Linked DNA regions of Homo sapiens: regions 2, 3 and 4 are each linked to region 1. The links are contacts of gene promoters, found by promoter capture Hi-C in blood cells and fetal thymus (Javierre and others, 2016). All regions are on one chromosome and are shown on one strand. The core of a region is centred on a gene start or on the middle of the fragment in contact, and the rest is flanking DNA. Distances in the headings are between cores, read along the strand shown.

Region 1 (5,292 bases), core at 801-3,300:
AGCCTGACCAACAATGGAGAAACCCCGGCTCTACTAAAAATACAAAATTAGCCGGGTGCGGTGGCACATGCCTGTAATCCCAGCTACTAGGGAGACTGAGGCAGGAGAATCGCTTGAACCCGGGAGGCAGAGGTTGCAGTGAGCCGAGATCATGCCATTGCACTCCAGCCTGGGCAACAAGAGCAAAACTCCATCTCAAAAAAAACAAAAACAAAAACAAAAACAAAAAAAAAACTGACAATGTCATTCTTTCTTAGAACCCTTTAGTTATTTTCCAGTGATACAAAATAAAATCTTGACTCTTAGCTTGCCTTACATCTTGCCCCTCCTAACTTTTCCAGACTAGTCTCCAGTTCCTCCCATTACGTCAGCAGTAGTCAATCCAGCTCCATCAACACCATTCCCTATTGAGCCTGTGACCCAGCCTATTTTGCCTCTGGCCTGAGATCACCTTTTTCACTTTAGTTTCTTATTCAAGACACTGGCATTTCAAACTGACGGGTTTTTTTGAACTCCGTTCACTGTGGTATTGTGGCACCAGTCCACACCTCTAACAGGGCACTAATAACAATAGGTTTGTTTACATGTCACCTCCTCCTCCAGAATGTAAGTTCTTCTCAGTAAACTTTTTATGCCCAATGCCCACAATGGCTTAGAGCATAATAGGGTTTCTTAGGCATTTAATAAATGTTAATTGAATAAATTTGGTTAAAGAGATTATTGTATAAGAAATATGCAGGGGAGTTGAAACATACGACCTCCAAAGTCCTTTCCAACTTAGACTTTCATTGAAGGATATCAGTCCCTTCCATGTTTTTGAATATCACATCTATGTATGACTATGTATACATATGTATATGTATACATGTATGGCTATGTATGACTCCCAGAGCCATAATTTCAAAGCTCTCAATCTGAGCTTTCGACTAAAATATCCATCTGCCTGTTACATAGCTTCACTTATTATCTAAGTTGGCATCTCAAATTCAATACGTCCAAAATTAACTTACTTTCCCACACAACTTGTTCCACCTTAGCAGTTTTTTGTATTTGCTAATGACACCATTGTCCTTTCAGGGACTGCTGTTAAAAACATCCTACATGGCCACTCTCTTCTAAAATAAATCACTGCGTAGACCTCTGCATTCCTCTTTCCTAAAATTCTTTTTGTCGTTCCATAGGCTTACAGTCTCCATCAAACTGCTTGTGACTCTAATTAGCACTTACTTCATTCTGACTTGCATGCTATATTTCCATCTCTGTTCCACATTTCAAGATTTCTGTAGATAGACAGCAGGTGCTCAACAACTCCTTGTAGAATGGCTGCATGAAGGTTGGGATGTTAGGTTTAAATTGCCTTTGCGGCACGGATCTTGTTTTACACTTTTTTGTCCCCCACCCCCCGCCATAAAAAGAGCAGAGAAAACAGGGAACACATATATTAAAAACTGAACACTGCATCTATTATTCTAACTCGGAGCTGTTGCAACAACTGGCGGCAGTTTTAACAAAACAAGCCACGCTCTGCCATTAAAAAAAAAAAAAAAGTCCCTTAGACTCAGCTCCCAGCTAAAACAACCCAGGATCCAGGTTTCCCACCCCCTTCCAGTGGTCTGATGTGCGTCGGAGGAGCGAGGAGAAAGGAGCAAGGAGCAAGCTGGGCCTGAGGAGCAGGGAGCGCGGGATGGGGGACGTCCCGGAAGTCACTGACGAGCTGGCTGCCGCCTCTGCGGGATCAGTTTGGGCTGAGGGCCCAACAATAACAGGCGCCCGGGCCGGGCGGGGGCCGCGGGGATCCGAAGCTGGAGGGCGGGACCTGGATTGGAGGAGGCGGGTGGGACGCCTCCAAAGGCCGAAGGGGATTGGAAGAGGGAGGTAAGGGGCGGTGGAGCTCGAGGAATGGGCCGGAGAACTAGCGGGTCGAGCGAGGAGCGAGCATGCTGATTGGGTTTCGCGGAAGGAGACGGACCAGAGCTGGCCGAGGATTGGCCGCGGTGCCTAGGGGGCGTGGCCGGCGCGCGCGAGAGGGAGCGCGAGGGAGCTGGCTGCGGGCCTGCCTGCCAGCTAGCCGGAGCCGCGGGTGAGCGCGGCGAGCGGCGACCCTGGTGAGGAGCGCGGCGCGGGAGGCACGTTCCTTAGCTCCGCCGCGGCCGTCCTCCGCGGCTCGAGGACTCCGCTTCCTTCCCTCCCCTCCCCTGCGCTCCGGCCTGGGGTCTCGGCGCGGGGAGCGGAGGGAAGGGACGAAGGAGGAGTAGGTGAAAGCGGGGTGAGGGGCGGAAGGGTCCCGGCGCGGGGTGAGGCGAGGGCTGCCTCTTGTTCTCCCGCCGCTGCCGCCGTCTCCTGGTCGGGTGCCGCGGCCAGAGGCGCGCGGGGCTGCCGAGGCACCCGCACTATGCAGGCAGACTGCCGGCCGCCGCGATGGCGAGCCGGGCGGTGGTGAGAGCCAGGCGCTGCCCGCAGTGTCCCCAAGTCCGGGCCGCGGCCGCCGCCCCCGCCTGGGCCGCGCTCCCCCTCTCCCGCTCCCTCCCTCCCTGCTCCAACTCCTCCTCCTTCTCCATGCCTCTGTTCCTCCTGCTCTTACTTGTCCTGCTCCTGCTGCTCGAGGACGCTGGAGCCCAGCAAGGTGAGTGGTCCCAGGGGAGTGAGCGGCGGGGGAACCTCCGTCGGGGCTGCGGGTCTCTTGGCCCCTGAACAAATCTGCAGACGCTGCAGGGAGGCGCGGTGCGCTTTCGTGCGTGGCCGGACCTGGCTGGGTACTCACGGGGTTGAGTTGCAAAGGCAAGGTCTTGCCCGTCTGTCCCCCAAGTTGGCGCGGCTTTACTTTTTGGCAAGGCCATTTATTTTTCTGAAAGGGGGACGTGAGACCCTGCTATGAAAGCCTCGTTGATATTAGGTCCTTCTGGGGAAAATTTTGGGGAGGAAAAAGAACCTTTGGAGGTAATGACCCCTAAAGTTAAGCTGCACGGATGGATGGACACTGTAGGAAGGCAGGTTAATTAAATAGCATCTTAAGCCTATTAAAGGTAAGTGGTGGTAATTATGATCCTTTGTGAAAGAGCCCGGGTTCTGAAGCGAATGGAATAGTTTCTGCTTATCTCTGAGTCTTGGATTCAGAACATGTTCTTTACAATCCATCATTGAGGCTGGTGGTCTAGACTGCCTTGGTCAAACACTGGGTCTGACCCAACGCTATGCTAATTTGCCCAAGTGAAGCTCTCCACATTAAAAAGGTAAGCCTTTCCAGAAAGTGACAAAACTTTTTTTTTTTTCCACCTACAATCCTTGAAAAACCTGTTCCAGAAACAGGCAAAACTGTTTATTAAATACTTATCATAATGGAAGGAGAATGCAGGGTGATTTCTTTTCCCCTTTAGTACTGTTTTCCCGTAGTGTACCACACTTTTTGAATCAGTTTGGCATCAGTTTTTGAAAAGATATTTCCATTGCATTTTCCATTTTATTGCAGTGGGAAGGATAAGGATTGGATTGTTACTTATTGCTAGGAAGAGAGTTTTTTAAAAAGAAAATTGTTCTCTGCCTTTAAGCCCAGCTTTATGTTGCTCTCATGGTTTTCAGTGAAGTATGGAATCATGGCCTGTCATTAAGAAGATGCCGAACCTTGACAGGCATGTGGAAATATAATCTCTGTAACTATAAGGAAAAAATGTATTTGGCAAACTGACCCCTTACATCTAGACACGTTTCTATATAGAGTAACTCAAAATTTAGATGCTTAGCATTTAGGTTTTAGTTAGATCGTCTTCTAAAATTACTGAACATCATCATCATTTAATATATTAAAGTGTGAAATCCTTCTTTCCACTGTAGAGATGTATTTCCCTCCTGGTAGGGGGGAAAACAGGCTTATATATGGCTAACACTTAGGGCTTACTTTGTGGCTGGAACAACTGGACTAAGTGGTTTGGGTTTATTAACTCCTTGAATCTTCACTACAATCAGCTGAGATAGTTATTGTTATCCCAGTTCAAACGTAAGGACATTGAGACACAAAGAATATAAGGTACCTTGATGCAGGAGGGCATATTACTCCATAGGCAGAGTACTCTGCTTTGCTTGTTTCTGGATCTGATAGTGTTTGTATCATGTTATTAAAAAAAATCTTGGAACAGTATAGAATCAGTTACATGTCTACCTTCCAAATGAGGGATTGCCTTGTTTTTAGAAAAGGCCAGTCTACCGGGCGCGGTGGCTCACACCTGTAATCCGAGCACTTTGGGAGGCTGAGGCGGGCAGATCACGAGGTCAGGAGATCGAGACCATCCTGACCAACATGGTGAAACCCCGTCTCTCCTAAAATACAAAAAATTAGCCGGGCATGGTGGCACATGCCTGTAGTCCCAGGTACTCAGGAGGCTGAGGCAGGGGAATCGCTTGAACCCGGGAGGCGGAGGTTGCAGCGATCGCGCCACTGCACTCCAGCCTGGCGACAGAGCGAGACTGTCTCAAAAAAAAAAAAAAAAAAAGAAAAAGAAATAGCCAGTCTAATCAGACAAGCAACATTACTTCATTTTTTAAGGTTTAATATAATTTTTTTTTACCAGAACATTTTAACAAATACATTTCTCTTTAACAGTGTCATCTTATGTAAACATCAACATAAATAGAAATGATTCTGATAATTAAAAGACTTTTTTTTTTTTTAGTTCTTCTAAATTGCTTGGGTAAATTTTGCTAAATCATTTAATATTTAATCTCTTTGTACCTCAGTTTTCTACATCATTAAGGTGAGCATGCATACCTATCTCATAGCTTAATATAAATGAAATGATAGTATGCAGGAATTTTGCAAAGGGAAAAGCTTAAAATAGCTATAAATGATTATTACTAATCTCGATCTTACTAAGTTGATAAATTAAGAGCTAATTAGGTATACATCATCTGAAAACTCACAATTATTTGAGATTTGAATTTTCTCATTTTTAAAAATTAAATTTTTTACTCAAAGGACCCTAAAGCAGCCCGTGGTGGAATTCCTTTTAAGCCAGTCTTCCCAGTCTAACAGATGTTCTTTAGGGTCTACTGATATTCCCTCACATAACCTGAAAAGAAGTCTGTTTAAAACACCTTTAGAATTTTTAATGGGATTTGTACATGTTGTAATGTTCAGCTACAAGGTAGAGTTTTTACTCTATAAGAAGTCTTAAGACTGGAAGGAAATAAACTGTTGACAGTTGTTGTCTTTTGGTGGTAAAATTGTGGGACATTTCTTTATACTTTTCTAAATTTTCTGTAATTCGCATATAGTCAGAATAAAAATTAAACTGCAAAAAA
Region 2 (5,292 bases), core at 864-3,363, 390 kb after region 1:
AATGGGTGCAGCTCTGAAGATGCAAATTGTTATTTCACAAGCTTGATGCAGCTGTGTCCTGGCACAGATGGGTGGAGGCTTTTGTCCTCCTTTCAGCACTCTTCTCAAAGGGAACAGTGATTCATACCTTGAAAAGTGAGGAATAAACAAGGAAACGGATCTAAATTATTTTTCTACTGCTCATCAGGTGTTCTTATACTCCATCGTAATAAGATACATTTTTCCCTGGGGCCAAATTACATGCCATCATCCTGCAAATTCATGATGTGAAAATGCTCAATTGTAAAAAGAGTAACAATTATTTGCCCTATAGAAGAAGTTACCATAGAGTGATTACATTCTCTTCAGTGCCAGAATTTCTATTACTAGCATTACGTGTATACAAATATACATTATTTGACATATAAACATTTACATACTTTCAGCAAACTTCTATAAAAGCAAGATCCAATTTATATTACTTTGTATATTTGCAAAGGTTTAGAAATGTGAAATGAGAATTTTCTTTCTGCCGTACACCTTTTAAAATATCTGAGTTACTAAGTAATGTGTCATCTTTACTGGTCCAGTGTTAGTGTCTCAGTATGTGAGCTTTACCTCACCTGCCCTGCAGCCTTTCAGCCCCTCCCAGTCTTCCGCATTTTGTTCGTTTCTTTCCCCCCTTAGCTTGTATTGTCATTGTATGTTCACAAACATCTTTGGTTCTCTTGCTCCCATAATTTCCTATGACACCTCCCTTCGCAATCCTTAGCCCTATCTTCATAGACTGTGCTGTCCAGTTTTCTTAATCTTAAGATATCAAGGATGGCTGTTCAGAACTACTAAGTTGATTCTATAAAAAAGTATGCTGTTTGACTTCAACTGCTTTATAATTCTAAGCATCTCTAATTATTGATCTTTTAACACCCTGCCACACATTTTCCAAGTCTCTACAAATGTTAGTTGTTGGAAACCTTTATTCTTCCTGCTTAACTTCCATGGAAGGAGTTTATGCTCTCTTTTAGAAGGGAATACTGGAGTCAACTCTTGTAGTATCTCCCAGCCTTATTTGCTTCTCTATATAAAAGAAGAATGTATTATCTGGTTGGAGAGATTGCTGGAATCAGGGCATCCACAAGGAGCAGCATGGTATATGGTGGTTAAGTATTTAGCTTGGGAGACAGAATGCGAGCTTTGTAATCCCAGGTCTATCTTTTGTCTCTTAGCCTTTTTCCAAACACCGCTTTTCCCATCTGTGAAATGCTTTGATTATCATATGTCTCTTAGAGTTGTGATGAGGATTATGTAAATTGCTTAGCATAAAGTAGTCGCTCAAAAACTGCTAGTTATGACTGGCTGCATTGTGAGGGGTTGCCAAGCCTATAAAGTGGTGGCTCTTAGCCTAGGCTGCACATTGGAATTTCCTGGAGAACTTAAATGTTTTCATTCCAGAGAATCTGATTTAGTTGGCCTGGGCTATGGTCGGGTCATTGAAATTTTTAAAACCTTTCCAAGTGATTCCAATGGGCAGTTATATTTGAAAGCTATGTTTAAACGCAAGAAATAGGATTCTCTCTCTCCTAGGCAGATTATGAAAGAGTGGGCTGTGGAGTAAACAGACCTGGCTTGGTGTCTGCCTTCTAAAAGCCATTTCTCTACTGTGCTTTCCACACTCTTCTGTTGACTGGCTCTTTGTGACAGGTCCCAATCCATCCCACCTCTGATAGTTGGAGATGCGTATGAAGAGTCTGCTCTGCAGATCCAGTGCACCCCTGGTTCTCAGGTTCAGATTTGGCAGGATGTAATAGGAAGCCTTGTTTGTTTTGGCTTCAATTCCAAATTATTTTCTCTAATCCGGTACTTTCAGGGACCCTGTAATTTGAGGTCATTAGGCCTCTATAAAGAAAGTGAATATTCTTATCCCTGTCTGCTTATCAGTTCATTGTGTTCATACTCTTGGTTAGAACTAGGAAGGAAGGAGGCATGCATGAGTGATTGATGTTAACTTCTACCCAAGCTAGAAATTCTGAGGATGAACATATAATAGCATTATCTATAAAATGGGATATTATCTGCCTCAATAGGTTTTTGTGATGGTTAAATAAGAAGGTATACGTGCAAGTTTTTAGAACACCTTTGAAAACATAAGAGCTCAAAAAGTGTTTGGTACTATTATTTGGACATTAATGCAGTGCACGGGAAGGAGGCAGCCTTTGCTTGCCCTGTGTGGTCCAGCTCTAGGGCATGCGGGACTCTGAGCTGTTGGGGTTTACCACAAGGCTACACTCCAATGGGGATTAGAACTGGGGCTGGTGTTACATTATTGGGGAAGTCTTCTGTTTCCAGTAAAGGTTTGTTTCAAAACAGAAAGGGCTTCATTACATGGGCTTTTTAGCCATACAAGCCTCTCAAGGTGGAAGAATTTTTGCTTTTAAAACTCACATTTTAATCCTTTTTTTCAAGTAGGACAGCAGTGGGGTGGAACTTTTGGCCTTTCAATGATTGTGCTATTGGTAAATCGAGATAAATGCATCAAAAACCTTTCTATTAGTCCATTTGTGATTCTATAACAGAATACCTGAGACTGAGTAATTTATAAATAATAGAAATTTATTTTTAATGGTTCTGGAGGCTGAAAAGTCCAAGATGCCAGCAGATTTGGCAATTCTGATTCCAAGACAACACTTTGCATGCTTCATGCTTCAGAGGAGAGGAAAACTGTTCCTCACATGAGAGAAGAGTAGAAGGGCAAAGAGGGTGAGAGTGGGCCAAACTGTACCAATTCCACCCATGAGGGTGGAGCCCTCATGGCCTAATCACCTCTCAAAGGTCCCACCTCCTAATAGTGTTACAATGGCAATTGAATTTTGACATGTGTTTTGGAAGGGGCAAACTTTCAAAACATAGCACTGTCTTTATGTTGTTTAAAATTGGACTCAGGTCCATTGAGGGAAGTGGAAGAACTTGGATTCCTGCAGCTTGTTTGCAGGCTCCTGAAATCAGCCTCTACAACATGCAATCCAATTAGATTTGGATGGTTCATTTTAAGTTCTGAGGGTGGAAGTAGATTTCAGGGATCCACACCATGGTTCCACTGCTGAGTAATGGTGGATATTATTCATGAGCACTTAACAAGATGCCAAGTGGCACTTGTTACCATGGACTCAAAGGAGGATTCAAAGATATGAAAGATAAGACATTATCTAAAAAATTCTAGAGAGAGTTCCAACACTTGATGCTAAAACACCCTTGTAATGGTTAATATTAAGTGTCAACTTGATTGAATTGAAGGATGCAAAGTATTGTTCTTGGGTGTGTCTTTGAGGGTATTGCCAAAGGATATTAACATTGGAGCCAGTGGACTGGGAGAGGCACATCCACCCTCAGTCTGGGTGGGCACAATTGAATCAACTACCAGGACAGCCAGAATAAAAAGCAAGCAGAAGAATGTGGAAAGACTAGACTGACTGAGTCTTCTGGCTTCCCTCTTTCTCCTGTGTTGGGTGCTTCCTGCCCTTGAACATTGGACTCCAAGTTCTCCAGCTATGGGGCTCTTGGACCTTTGACCACCGACTGAAATCTGCACTGTTGGCTTCCCTACTTTTAAGGTTTTGGGACTTGGACTGCCTTCCTTGCTCCTCAGCTTGCAGACGGCCTATTGTGGGACCTCACCCTGTGATCATGTGGGTCAATACTTAAACTCTCCTTTATTTAAACATCTATCCTATTAGTTCTGTCCCTCTAGAATACCCTAATGCAGCCCTCAAGGACTAATTTAGAGCAGCAGTACCCAATTTGTCATCTTAACCATTTACCCCAGGCCTTGTACCCTCCACCTAAAACTCCCAAGCATTTGAAATAAGATACCTGGGGGAAGGAAAGGGAGGGAAAGGCCTTGAGCCTTTGAGTGGAGAGTGCTGTGGCCTCTCCCTCTTACTCCCTCCTATGCATTAGGCATTACTCTAGGTGAACAAGTAGAGCTACTCTGTAATTAATTCCTGACTTTAACATCCACAGAACTACTCTGGATTTAAACAGATCGATTTGCAATCCCAATTCTTTTTACTAGTTGAGAAACTTTGGGCAAGTTCTGTCATTCTTTAGGTCTCAGTAGGATAATAATGCCTATTTTTCACGTTCACTGTGAGGCTTATAAGGTAATATATGTAAAGTGCTTAGCATGGAGTTTGGTACAATTTAAGCTTTCAATCAACAATAACTGTTATTAATCTTCAGATGATTTCAAATCCCCAGCCCTGCCTTCTCCCTAAACTCCAAGTCCAAATTCCTAGGTGCCTTCAAGGCAGCTTCATTTGAATATTTTCATGATACCTAAAATGTAATATGTTTAAATTTATACTCATTTGTCTTCTCATAACTGCACCAATTCTCATTTGTTTTACATGTTTTCCCATCAACTAGACTTTTAATGTTGACATCATCTTTGACTCCTTCTTTTCCCTGGCCTTCTATATCCAATTAGTTATCAAGATTTTTTGATTCTATTTCAGTAATGCCTATGTCACTGAAACTCTCCTGTCTAGTCACCTTAGTTCCGGTTCCTTCCTGGATGATGACAGTAGACTCTCTGCTGGTCTCTTTGCCACTAACTAGCTTACCTGAAACCCATTTTACACATCCTGCCAGCCTAATTTGCTAAAGCATAGATAATATCGCATCAACCTTTTACCCCAAAACCATCAACAACTCTCTACTGCTTACAAAAGCAATCTAGAATAAAGTCTAGATTTTGTCTAACATCAAAGCTGTAACATTGTCTAGCTCTATCTTTGGATCATTTTCTCCTATTCCTCTCCTTTAGTCACAGTCATTGTTACGTTTGGACTTTCTTATATCTGTGATTCATCTTATATTGTCTTTATTTATGGAATGCTATTCTCCACATACTCAAATCTTGATCTATACCACTTCACTGCAATTCCAGTTTCAAAAATCATGACCACTTCTTTACCAATTGAAATAACTGAAGACTCATCTCGAATGTCTTGCTCTTCTGAATCCCTGTGGCATTCGGAGTAACCCCCTTCTTGCTGCTTTTGCCACTTTCTACTTTTTGTATAACAGTGATTGTTGTGCATATCAACCTTCCTACTAGAACTTATTGCCTATTTAATCTTTGTATCCCTCCAACATCTTCCACATTGCCTTGCAAAGAATAGTCCCTCAATAAATGAGAGAGTTGCTTCTGAGTTATAATCCTTGAAATTATTAGAAAGCTGCATTGTAAAATATATACATGAAAGTAGATTAACTGGGGAAAAATTAGAATTGATAGACTAGAGCTCAAATTGA
Region 3 (5,292 bases), core at 2,437-4,936, 370 kb after region 1:
GTAATTCAACCAGTGAAGTTCTCTTTTGTTAAGAGTTAACATCATTGATTAGGAGATTTTCTCCCTATTAACCCTCAAATACGCTTCATCAGACTCTGGATCCCCTCTGATCTTCTCTTCATTATACCACACCTGTGTAGCACTGATTTTTTTAGCTTCTGAGCCATGGCCTTCTGGTACCTCCACACATGGGTGAACATCACTTTTGGAATTGCTGATTGCTGATCTGGCAACAGATATACCTATAAGTGACATCATGATGGAGGTGCCAGCATGGACACTATAAAAGGGAAGATTTTTTAGTACATTTAAAACACTTGGGGAACAGGCTAAAACAGAAAGAATTCTATCACATTTTTCTCTCATATGTTTCCTTTTATATTATGATGACCATAGTAAAATATAACACATTTTGAAACGGACTCCATTTATTTCAGCTCTTTACTGGTCAAAGTGACTCAAGGCTCTCTTGCACTATTCTTCTCTCCTATCTGATTTAATCTTCAGAATTCTAGTTTCAGGTTGATATTGCTATTCATAGAAAAATGTATGTTTGTAGATGAAAATATAGTCATTAAACATTTGAAGTCCTTTCTTAAGTTGTTTTTTCATTTGTTTGTTTGTTTAATTTTTGAGACAGGGTCTCACTAGGGTCTCACTTTGTCACCCAGGCTGGAGTGCAGTGTCTTGAACACAGCTCACTGCCAGGCCCATGCAATCCTCCCACCCCAGCCTCCTGACTAGCTAAGACTACAGGCATGCACCACCATGCCCGACTAATTTTTGTATTCTTTGTAGAGACGGGTTTTCGCCATGTTGCCCAGGCTGGTCAGGAACCCCTGAGCTCGAGCAATCTATCCGCCTTGGCTTCCCAGAATGCTGGGATTACAGGCATGGGCCACCAAGCCTGGCCCTACTGAATTGTTATTTCTTCAGTAATTAGTATATTAAAAAGAATCATCCTGCCGGTTGTACTTCCTCCTTCCCTCTTCCTCCTGATATGGTCTAGTGTCACCTGAGTCTTAGGCAAGTAAGCTGAGGTCAGGGAAGGATAAAGGCTCCTCTGACCTGGGACAGTCCCAGAAGTCACTCTGGAGTTGATTTGTGGGCCTGAGCCTGCCTTCTCCTGTGTCCCTGGCTGCTGTGCGCAATTCATTTAATTTCATGGAGGGCATATTCTTTACTAAATATAGACTACAGATCAGAGAAACTAATTAACCGCTTTGACATTTCTGGGACAGAAATCTTTCCCACTGGGTAAGCTTTAATTATTTAATAGAATAATTCATTTTGTCAAAAATTGAAGTAGGACAATATTTACTCAAAAAAGATTAATAGGGTAATATAGAATATTTAAACATATCATCTATATCTGTGTGCCTGTGTGTTAAAGTACTAATCATATATATTCTTTAAGTGTACTGAAATTTTAATATTAGAATTTTGTACCCTACAATCATAAGTTCTTTTGGCATTTGAGAAAATAAGGTTGATTCTGGGTCTACGGTTTTTCTTCTTTTTTTTAATCCTTTGATATGTCTCAAGAATTCAACATAAAGGTATTATAAAATGGAAAAAGAGTTCATGCTCATACTGTAGAGGAAAATATTTGGCTGCACATTCATTCTGTATCCCTTAAATTTTTTTTTTCAAATTTCAAAAGTTGCTGGACCGCTGATGTAAACTATCTCAAATCCAATTTCCTCAGCAAACTATTGAAGCAGTTGTAGATAAAATAGTTTGCTTTATCATTATGTGGCCACCTTGAAGTATGATATTTAATGGTAGAATGTTACAATGTGAGAATACCCACCTTGGATCAACAGCATCTTTGTACCCAAATCAGAAAACAAATTAAATGTTTTAAGCCAAAAACGTTCACATAGCATAGTGCCAGTCTTTTAGTACCTCAGAGTACAATGCTAGTACAAGACAGAATCCACAATAAAGCTGGCTAAAGTGGGGTTGTAAATAAGCTGGTGCAACGGTCAATTTTAGGACTTTGAGTTTTCTTTAAAATAAACATGAAGATACTAACAATAAAATAGAAACCTACACATAGATCAAAACTCAAAAGCAACACTGGGTTCCATAAACATATGAAAAGTCAATGTAAACAGAATGATGGCAAAAAAAAAAAGAATAATATATAAGTATTAGTAACTGAATTAGAGCATATATGCCACATCTTTGGAATTCTTTTTCTCAGAAAATAACACTCAACTTTCCTCCATGACTCCTGGCAGAAATAACTGCTTCTTCCTTTGTATTTCCTAAGAACTTTAAAAATACTGGTTACAAAGTACTTGTCTCTTTTCACACTGTTAGTTGTCTTTGTATCTGACCCCTGGAGCTGATAATGAGCAACCTGAAGACAGAGTCCATTCATTATCTCTGGACTGGCCTCTAGCATACAGAAGTTACCCAACTAAAGTTCTTTTAGGACTCTTAAAGCCATTGTTTTGAACCTGTGGATGCCAGATCGTTTTACCCAGATTAGAGTCATCAGGGACACCTGCTGAGCTGTAGATTGCCAGACCCTATTCTAGATGTCCTCAGTCAGAATCATTGGGGAAGAAGTCTAGGACTTTATATTTAACAAGCATTCGAGGTGATTCTTATACACACTAAAGTTTAGAATCACTGTTCTAATTTATATAAGTTAACCAACATTATATATTATGCTTTGTTATTATTTTGACTAATTTTTAAAAAAGGCTTAAAAGTTACCTCAGAATTTGAAATTTGTGGAAGTCTTTTAGTCTGAATATCACAAAATTTGAGGAATTAATTTAGATTTCTAGGCCCTGCTTATTCTATGTTCCAATTCCTGAGTTATGCTCAGAACTGGTTCAGGTGTTGAAGATGAAGACAGAGAAAGGTTTTCTCTACTGAAACATCTGCTTGAGTGAATCCATTATTATTTGCTGTGGCTTGCAGCCTCTGCTTCACAAGCAGGCTGAAGATTTAATAATAGAGCCACCCCTATTAGGCTTATTGAACTTATGATTATATTACTTCGGCCTCTTCCCTGTCAACCACCATATCAGGTGGAGACTCATCAGATTACATGCATATAGCACAGAAGAAAGAAATCCCTGGATACGAAGCCTTTGATTCACACATGCTCTGCTGATATGTCCCAGAATAAATGGCAAAGAGCATGAAGCAACTAATTATTTCTCATTAATCTCATCAGTCAAACGGTGTCATTATATATTCACTTGTTAGATACATTATCTTGTCCATTTCTTAAAGTGCAAAGTCAAATAGTTAAGTTTAAGAAAAACGATTATACTGTTTATACTCTAGGAGTTTATTTTTATTTTTAAATTCTCAGTTACTTGGAGAATTTAGTACTATATAATGTAATATCACATCATGCCAAACTAAGTGGCACGTATTCATTATTATGAGGGCCCCCCACTTAATTTACTGGCTTATTTCCATTGGTAACTAATATATAGATAGAAATGATGTTACTATTCTAGGAATATATACTTTAGATTTCTTCGAAATAGCAGATTTAATCTGAATTTAGGTTGTGCATAACAAAAATTATGTTTATTTATGTTGGTGTCCTTGGCATCCAGCAGAGTGTCTGGCAAGCAATAGATGGTCAATAAATGATTATAGATCTGGGATGAATCATGCTTGAATTTTGAGTTATTTCCGCAGAGTAGGGACTTTTCACAAACTTCTTAGACAGCTTCCATTTTCTATTCAGTCCTGGGATCTTTGTCACATCATAAACTAATATGAAGAGATGTTTCTAAGTTAATGCAGCACATTTTTTGTCAACTTATGCTTATGTTTTCACTTGGCACATCTTGTTGAATCAGAAGCAACTTGCAAACCAATAAATGTGAAAAATATCATTATCATGGCCTCATAATAAGTATGACGGATAGTGATGAGAAGAGGACTCTCTCAATGAAGACTCTTAAGTTTATTAATAATTAAATTAATTGATTATATTAGTTTCTTATCTGCAATAAGATTTTTTTTTGAAAAGTTATTTTTGGGAGGCCCACAATTCATACTCATAACTCTATACTAATAAGTGTCAATTAGAAGAAATCAGAAAAGTTTCCTTCCATAATTTTACCTTCATAATTACTGTTAATCTTTGAAATAGCAAGGGCTGTTTTTCGGTACCTTTTCTAATCAGAATGCATATAGTCTTCCTCCTTTTCCTTTGCAATCTACATTTGCCACTATCTCTGCTTCTAGTACATTGCCTAGGCTTGAGGTATAGGGTATATAAATTCTGCAATGAAACTCTAATGCTGTGGATCTATGAAAAACCGTATTTTGTAGTTGCATTATTCTTCTTCCAGTAGAATTATAAACTGTAAAATTTTAGAGCTTCAAGTGGTGTTAATGATCATTAGTACAACTGTTTTACTAAAGAGGACCCTAGGGTCCAGAAAGGGGTCATTAACCAAAGATCCATTGATAATTTTTAAATAAAGGATAATTTAAACTTAAACTTCTCATTTACATATGGGTCATTCACTGTCTTTCAGAAGCATGGGCATCTAAAAATTATAGTTTTTTACTATATGTGGCACTTTACAGGAATTACTAAAAAAAAAAAGGAGACATTTTAGGTGCACTTTTCTATTTGCCTTGATCTTGATTCTGTTATTGTTCTACAGTGAATGGGTGCAAGGAAATTCAAAGATAGGTACATTTTTAAAAATGGTTTTTGGTTGGAACCCAGAATTGTACATATTCCCATTTTTTTCCTTTCTGAACTCCAAAGTTCACAAGGGAAACAACCAGAAAAAAAATTACATGAAGAAACATAATGTAAATATATCTTATAATGTAGATATAACTTTTAGTTCCTAAAAATGTGCAATTAAAAATAAAATATTAAATGTATTGGGGAATTTAGTATTGATGGAAATTCTAGTGTGAAGGGTTGTTTCATAAGTACATAATAAAAACAAGTTACAACATCTGAGTATCTAGATTTTCAGTTATCGGTTTTATTTTAAATGTGCTATAACTATAATGCCTTCCGGTTGAAACTAGAACCATCTTTAACAAGTTAAGCTAGATGTCTCATTTAACTTCGCTTTTAAACCTAAATTCCATAATCTCTACATGGTTGCACAAAATCATCTTTCATATTTGTGAAAATATAAGGCTAGCTACCGTTTCTCAAACAGCAGAGTAAGAAGCAGAAGTAGAAATTTAGCTCCATTAATTAATTAAGGATTTATTTTACCTACTCATACAACAAGCAAGCATAAATAGAAATTAGGAAACACCAAAGATGCA
Region 4 (5,292 bases), core at 826-3,325, 320 kb after region 1:
TCCTTCTTTAAAGCAAGTATATATAGTATGAGAAACTTGGAGGCATTTCATACACACGTTTCTTAGGAAAATGGACACATTGAAAATGTCCTCTTTTTTATATTAGAGATTCTGCAGCTCTTTGCTCTTAAGAGCAAATCACAACAGGATTCTTAATGTATGATTTCTTTGTTCATATATTATGAATGTATTATTTTATTTGCTTCGTAATAAAGTTTATAAGGAAGAGCATCTCATACATATCATTATCGTGGAACACGTTGAATGTTTGTGATTCTGTGTGGCCTTTTTGGGGCTGGAAAATGTATGAATTCTTCAACTGTCTTACAAGAGATCTGCTAATAAATTTTATTATTAAATAAGACTAAGAAATATTTATATTTTTTGTTGCCAGGATAATATAGGAAAACGCATATATTTCTTAGTACAGTTGATCCTTGAACAACATTAGGGCTAGGGGCCCCAACTCCTCCTTACTGCATGCAGTTTCAAATCCTTGTATAACTTTTGACTCTCCCAAAACTTAATCACTAATAGCCTCCTGTTGACTGGTAGCCTGACCAATAACATAGTCAATTCGCACATGTTTTATGTTATATGTATTATATACTCTTCTTACAAGCTAAAGAAATGAAAATGTTATTAAGGAAATCGTAAGAAAGAAGATATATTTGCTATTCATTAGGTGGAAGTGAATCATCGTAAAGGTCTTCATCCTCATTGTTTTCATGTTGGGTAGGCTTAGTGGGAGTAGTAAGAGGAAGAGTAGGTCTTGCTCTCTCAAGGGTGGCAGAGGTGGAAGAAAATCTGCGAAGAAGCAAAACTCTTCAAACCTGTGTTGTTCAAGGCTCAGCTATGCTAATGCCATAGTTCCTCATTCCTAGGTATTTTACTCAAGAAAAATACAAGTTTTGTACTCAATTTTCATAGCAGCTTTATTCAATAGTTGAAAATTAGAAACAACCCAAATGGCTAACAGCAGGTGAGCAGATAAACAACTTGTGATATATGCGTATATTAAAATACTAAGCAATGAAAAGGAATAACTATTGCTAATGACAGTAACATGGGTGAACATCAGAAACATTATGCCAAGTGAAAGCCACACATAAAAGTACTTACTATATGACTACATTATAGGAAAACCTAGAAAAAGCAAAGCTTTAATGACAGAAAGCAGATCAATGGATGGCAGGGGTTAGGGGATGCAGATTTGTGAAAGGGGACAAAAGAGTATTTTGAGGTGATTTAAATGTTTTACATCTTGATTGTGATGGTTACTAGACTGTATATACATTTATCAAAATTCACTGAACTTAAAATGGAATTTTATTGTATATGTGAATAATACTTCAATAAATCTAATACTAGGAAAAATATAGGCATATAGGAACAAATGTTCAGATCAACCTCAGTTTAGCTTTTAAAAAATAGAAAATCACTACATAGTGATGATATAATGCTAAAATGCTAGCCTATTTAGTTGTGTTTAAAGCTGTGGCGGGTAAATGAAGATAAAATTTTTCTGTGCATTTGTTTTCAGTTCTTCAATAACCACGTATTTCTACTATGGATTAGACTATGTCTGAAAAGAATTGCATAACTACTGGAAAACAGATTATCCTACTGTTATTCAAAGTGAATTTCTCTTTCAATTTCTTACTGGTGTTAATTCAGTCTACCTGAAGACCACAGTGCACCTCCAGATGGCCTGAACACCTAACTGTCTTATGCATGCAGGTTCATGGTAATAAAGGGTGTCTGGAGGGGAGAAATGTCAATTCTCTGGAGCAAATTTTTAACCACTATTTTCTGTTCATCACTGTACTCTGCTGACCCTCCTAGTCAGCAGAGTATTTGAGATAAGTGCTTCTGCACGCTAAGGAGTACAAGATTTGAAAAGCCAAATGTTTCTTTATGACTTATCCTTCCATGTGTCTTTTGCTGTTACAATATTTAGAGACAGGAATCTTCTGCAGGTTTTTGACTTGCATGTCTGTACATAGGTGAGGATGACTCAAAGGCTCAGCTCATCTTGGACTGCAGGCTGCATTGCCTATGGGTGGCTCAGAGCACGAATTCCATGGAAAAAGGCAAAGGCAGTATGGTGGTTTTCTGTTCTAACCACTGAGGTTATGTAGTGTCACTTTCTTCACATTCCACTGGACTCCTGACAAGTCTGTCATTAAGGACAGTTCCAGATTCGAGTGGTAGGGAATTAGATCCCAGTCATCTTCAAAACCTCCACACAGCCTTCCACACTCAAAACCACGAAATAGATTGGACTCAACCCTCCACATTGCCCTAATTAGTTCCTGTTGAGTCCCCCTTTGAAATGGCTCCTGGTTTCCTTCCTCTGCCCTTTGCCACCACCCTACTTTAGTCTCACATACTTTCTCATCTGAACTTTTGCAATGCTCTCCCTGCCTCTGGGCACTCTGACCTTTCCCTCTCTTCAGAATTATTTTCCTAGGTCCCATTATCACCACCCTGCTGAAATAGTCAAAGAATCTCCTCTCCAGACAGAATTCTAAAGTCAGTCTGACATTCAAGCAATCCACCATTTAACTCCTACCTCGTGTTTCAGGCTTATCTTCTACATTTCTCTGTGCACTTCAGTCTCAGACCATATACTCACCACTCACCACTTTTCCTGAACTTCCCCCAAATTATATCCCCTCTGGCCTTTTCTCAGGCTGCTGCTATCTCTGCTTGGAATGTCTTATGTGCCCGCTCATCCTTCCATGCCCATTTTAAATCTTCTTCAAGAAACCTTCCTTGGAGTCAATCTCTTCTACCCTTTCAACACATTTTACTTTTAGTATTGCTGTCAACATATTCCATTTACAGTCATTCAATCCACATCCCACTTATTACAAAATATTGAAGGTGGATCTTTCCTTATTTATAGTACCTGCTACCTAATGAATGATGTGTTAACCTTTGTTTTCCAACACTGTTTTGCAATATATCGTAGTATCAAGCTTAGTGTTGTTTAGTTGTCTGTATAACTGTCTTATTCCTAGTCTGTGAAAACAGAAGTTCCCAGTATCTCTAAAAGCCCATTTAGAAATTGTTTTCAAGGATGTATTGTATTATCCCTGCCACAAGTATGAATTATGTATTTGAAATCTCACATTTTAAAATTTCATCTTTCTTCCCAAAGAAACACATAACAATCCAATTTCATAATAAACCTAAATTAGCACATTTAAGTTAGTGACGCTTAGACATTTGTAAATGGCTTGACTAAATTCCCTTGTATTGTTACCTGAAATCAAGTCATAAGTTGTACAACATAAAACCTCACTGATATGGTTAGGGTTTGTGTCCCCACCCAAATCTCACCTGGAATTGTAATCCCCCAAATCCCCAGGTGTCAAGGGAGAGACCAGGTGGAGGTAATTGAGTCATGAGGGTAAACCATCCCCGTGCTGTTCTCGTGGTAGTGAGTGAGTTCTCACAGGATCTGATAATTTTATAAGGTGCTCTTCCCTTCTTTGCTCAGCACTTCTCCTTCCTGCTGCCTTGTGAAGAAGGTGCCTTGCTTCCCTTTTGCCTTCTGCCATGATTGTAAGTTTCCTGAGGCCTCCCAGCCATGCTGAACTATGAGTCAATTAAACCTCTTTCCTTTATAAATTATTCAGTCTCGGGCAGTTCTTTATAGCAGTATGAAAACAGAATAATGCACTCACAGACCTGTTTCTACAAGTTGCTTTTTTTTTTTTTTTTTTTTTTTTTGAGGCAGAGTTTCACTCTTGTTGCCCAGGCTGGAGTGCAATGGTGCGATCCTGGCTCACCACAACCTCTGCCTCCTGGGTTCAAGCCATTCTCTTGCCTCAGCCTCCCGAGTAGCTGGGATTACAGGCATGTGCCAGCACGCCCGGCTAATTTTTTTGTATTTATTTAGTAGAGACAAGGTTTCACCATGTTGGCCAGGCTGGTCTTGAAATCCTGACCTCAGGTGGTCCACCTGCCTCGGCCTCCCAAAGTGCTGGGATTACAGGCATGAGCCAGCACACCCGGCTAATTTTTTGTATTTTTTTAGTAGAGACAAGGTTTCACCATGTTGGCCAGGCTGGTCTTGAAATCCTGACCTCAGGTGATCCACCCACCTCAGCCTCCCAAAGTGCTGGGATTACAGGCATGAGCCAGCACACCCGGCTAATTTTTTGTATTTTTTTAGTAGAGACAAGGTTTCACTATGTTGGCCAGGCTGGTCTTGAAATCCTGCCTCAGGTAATCCACCTGCCTCGGCCTCCCAAAGTGCTGGGATTACAGGCATGAGCCACGGTGCCCGGCCTACAAGTGGTTTTATACTGGATATTCACTAACATATACCAGCAGAGCAAGGTAGTTGAACTGCATTTCCTCTTCCGATCAGTGTAGCCAGCTCTATTCTAGATCTTAAGCTCATTCAAACAGTATTTTCAATAATTCTTTTACTGTTAATCCCTTCATATTTCAAAATGCGTTTGAACATAAAACTTGTCATAATCCAAGCCATCATGGTTTCAATAGGTTGATGCAAATACAGCCACTTAGGAAAGTAAATTGACTTTGCAGTCATTTAGAGTTGCAACACTGACTCTGTCATGGATGTGTTTTCTTATGAGATGGTTGAGAGGTATCAAAGTTCACAAAGCTGTACTGGCTGAATGCCTCTTATGTAATAGCAAGTGAATAATGCTTTCATAAATAAAAGTCTTTATAGCAATTTATCTATGCTCAGATCGGTTCAAGATTGCTTCCATTTTCTGACTTGATGAGGGAGACAGGCTTTTAGAATCTGTTCCACACCTGCTGCTTGACATTCTTCTAACCATTAGTATAATATACAAATCCACAATTTCTTGTAGTTCAAACTGTAGTTTATTAAAAATAACTAGTTCAGATGTCCTCAAAGACCATTTAAATTAATACTACCTGAATACAGGCTGGGCACGGTGGTTCATGCCTCTAATCCCAGCACTTTGGGAGGCCGAGGTGGGTGGATCACCTGAGGTCAGCAGTTCAAGACCAGCCTGGCCAACATGGTGAAACCCCATCTCTACTAAAAATACAAAAATTAGCCAGGCGTGGTGATGGGCGCCTGTAATCCCAGCTCAGGAGGCTGAGGCAGGAGAATCGCTTGAACCTGGGAGGCAGGGGGTGCAGTGAGCCAAGATCGTGCCACTGCACTCCAGCCTGCGCGACGGCGCGAAACTCTGTCTCAAAAAAAACCAAAAACCAAAAAACTACCTTAATACAAATTCTGCTGAAAGTACTTTTTGTTTTTTAATGTGTACTTGA

The links. The method cuts DNA at HindIII sites, captures the fragments that hold promoters and counts their contacts. A CHiCAGO score of 5 or more calls a contact.
Region 2: a contact is called between a fragment that was not itself captured here and the fragment with the promoter of DCBLD2 in region 1, in 1 of 17 cell types (monocytes). The highest score is 5.1, in monocytes.
Region 3: a contact is called between a fragment that was not itself captured here and the fragment with the promoter of DCBLD2 in region 1, in 2 of 17 cell types (fetal thymus and monocytes). The highest score is 9.3, in fetal thymus.
Region 4: a fragment that was not itself captured here is called in contact with the fragment with the promoter of DCBLD2 in region 1 in 2 of 17 cell types (monocytes and fetal thymus); the score reaches 5.6 in monocytes.

What each region holds. Positions count from the first base shown.
Region 1 is chr3:98,898,453-98,903,744 of GRCh38, reverse strand. DCBLD2 (discoidin, CUB and LCCL domain containing 2) reads left to right here and starts at 2,050. Exons shown (of 16, transcript NM_080927.4): 1 at 2,050-2,623. The coding sequence starts at 2,419. It overlaps LOC105374002 (a long non-coding RNA gene), which reads right to left and starts at 1,731. Exons shown (of 2, transcript NR_189121.1): 1 at 1,228-1,731. RefSeq lists silencers at 1,732-1,781, 1,922-2,611 and enhancers at 1,719-2,434, 2,435-3,151. The HindIII fragment of the contact is 5,361 bases long and covers 1-4,821 here.
Region 2 is chr3:98,508,066-98,513,357 of GRCh38, reverse strand. No RefSeq gene overlaps it. Among named protein-coding and RNA genes, the nearest start is that of CLDND1-AS1, 12 kb to the left of the region's middle. The HindIII fragment of the contact is 4,140 bases long and covers 44-4,183 here.
Region 3 is chr3:98,525,806-98,531,097 of GRCh38, reverse strand. It overlaps CLDND1-AS1 (CLDND1 antisense RNA 1), which reads right to left. Exons shown (of 2, transcript NR_198998.1): 2 at 5,211-5,292. Among named protein-coding and RNA genes, the nearest start is that of GPR15, 3.5 kb to the left of the region's middle. RefSeq lists an enhancer at 2,190-2,733. The HindIII fragment of the contact is 4,844 bases long and covers 1,265-5,292 here.
Region 4 is chr3:98,574,522-98,579,813 of GRCh38, reverse strand. It overlaps CPOX (coproporphyrinogen oxidase), which reads left to right. Exons shown (of 7, transcript NM_000097.7): 7 at 1-368. Among named protein-coding and RNA genes, the nearest start is that of CPOX, 16 kb to the left of the region's middle. The HindIII fragment of the contact is 1,823 bases long and covers 1,164-2,986 here.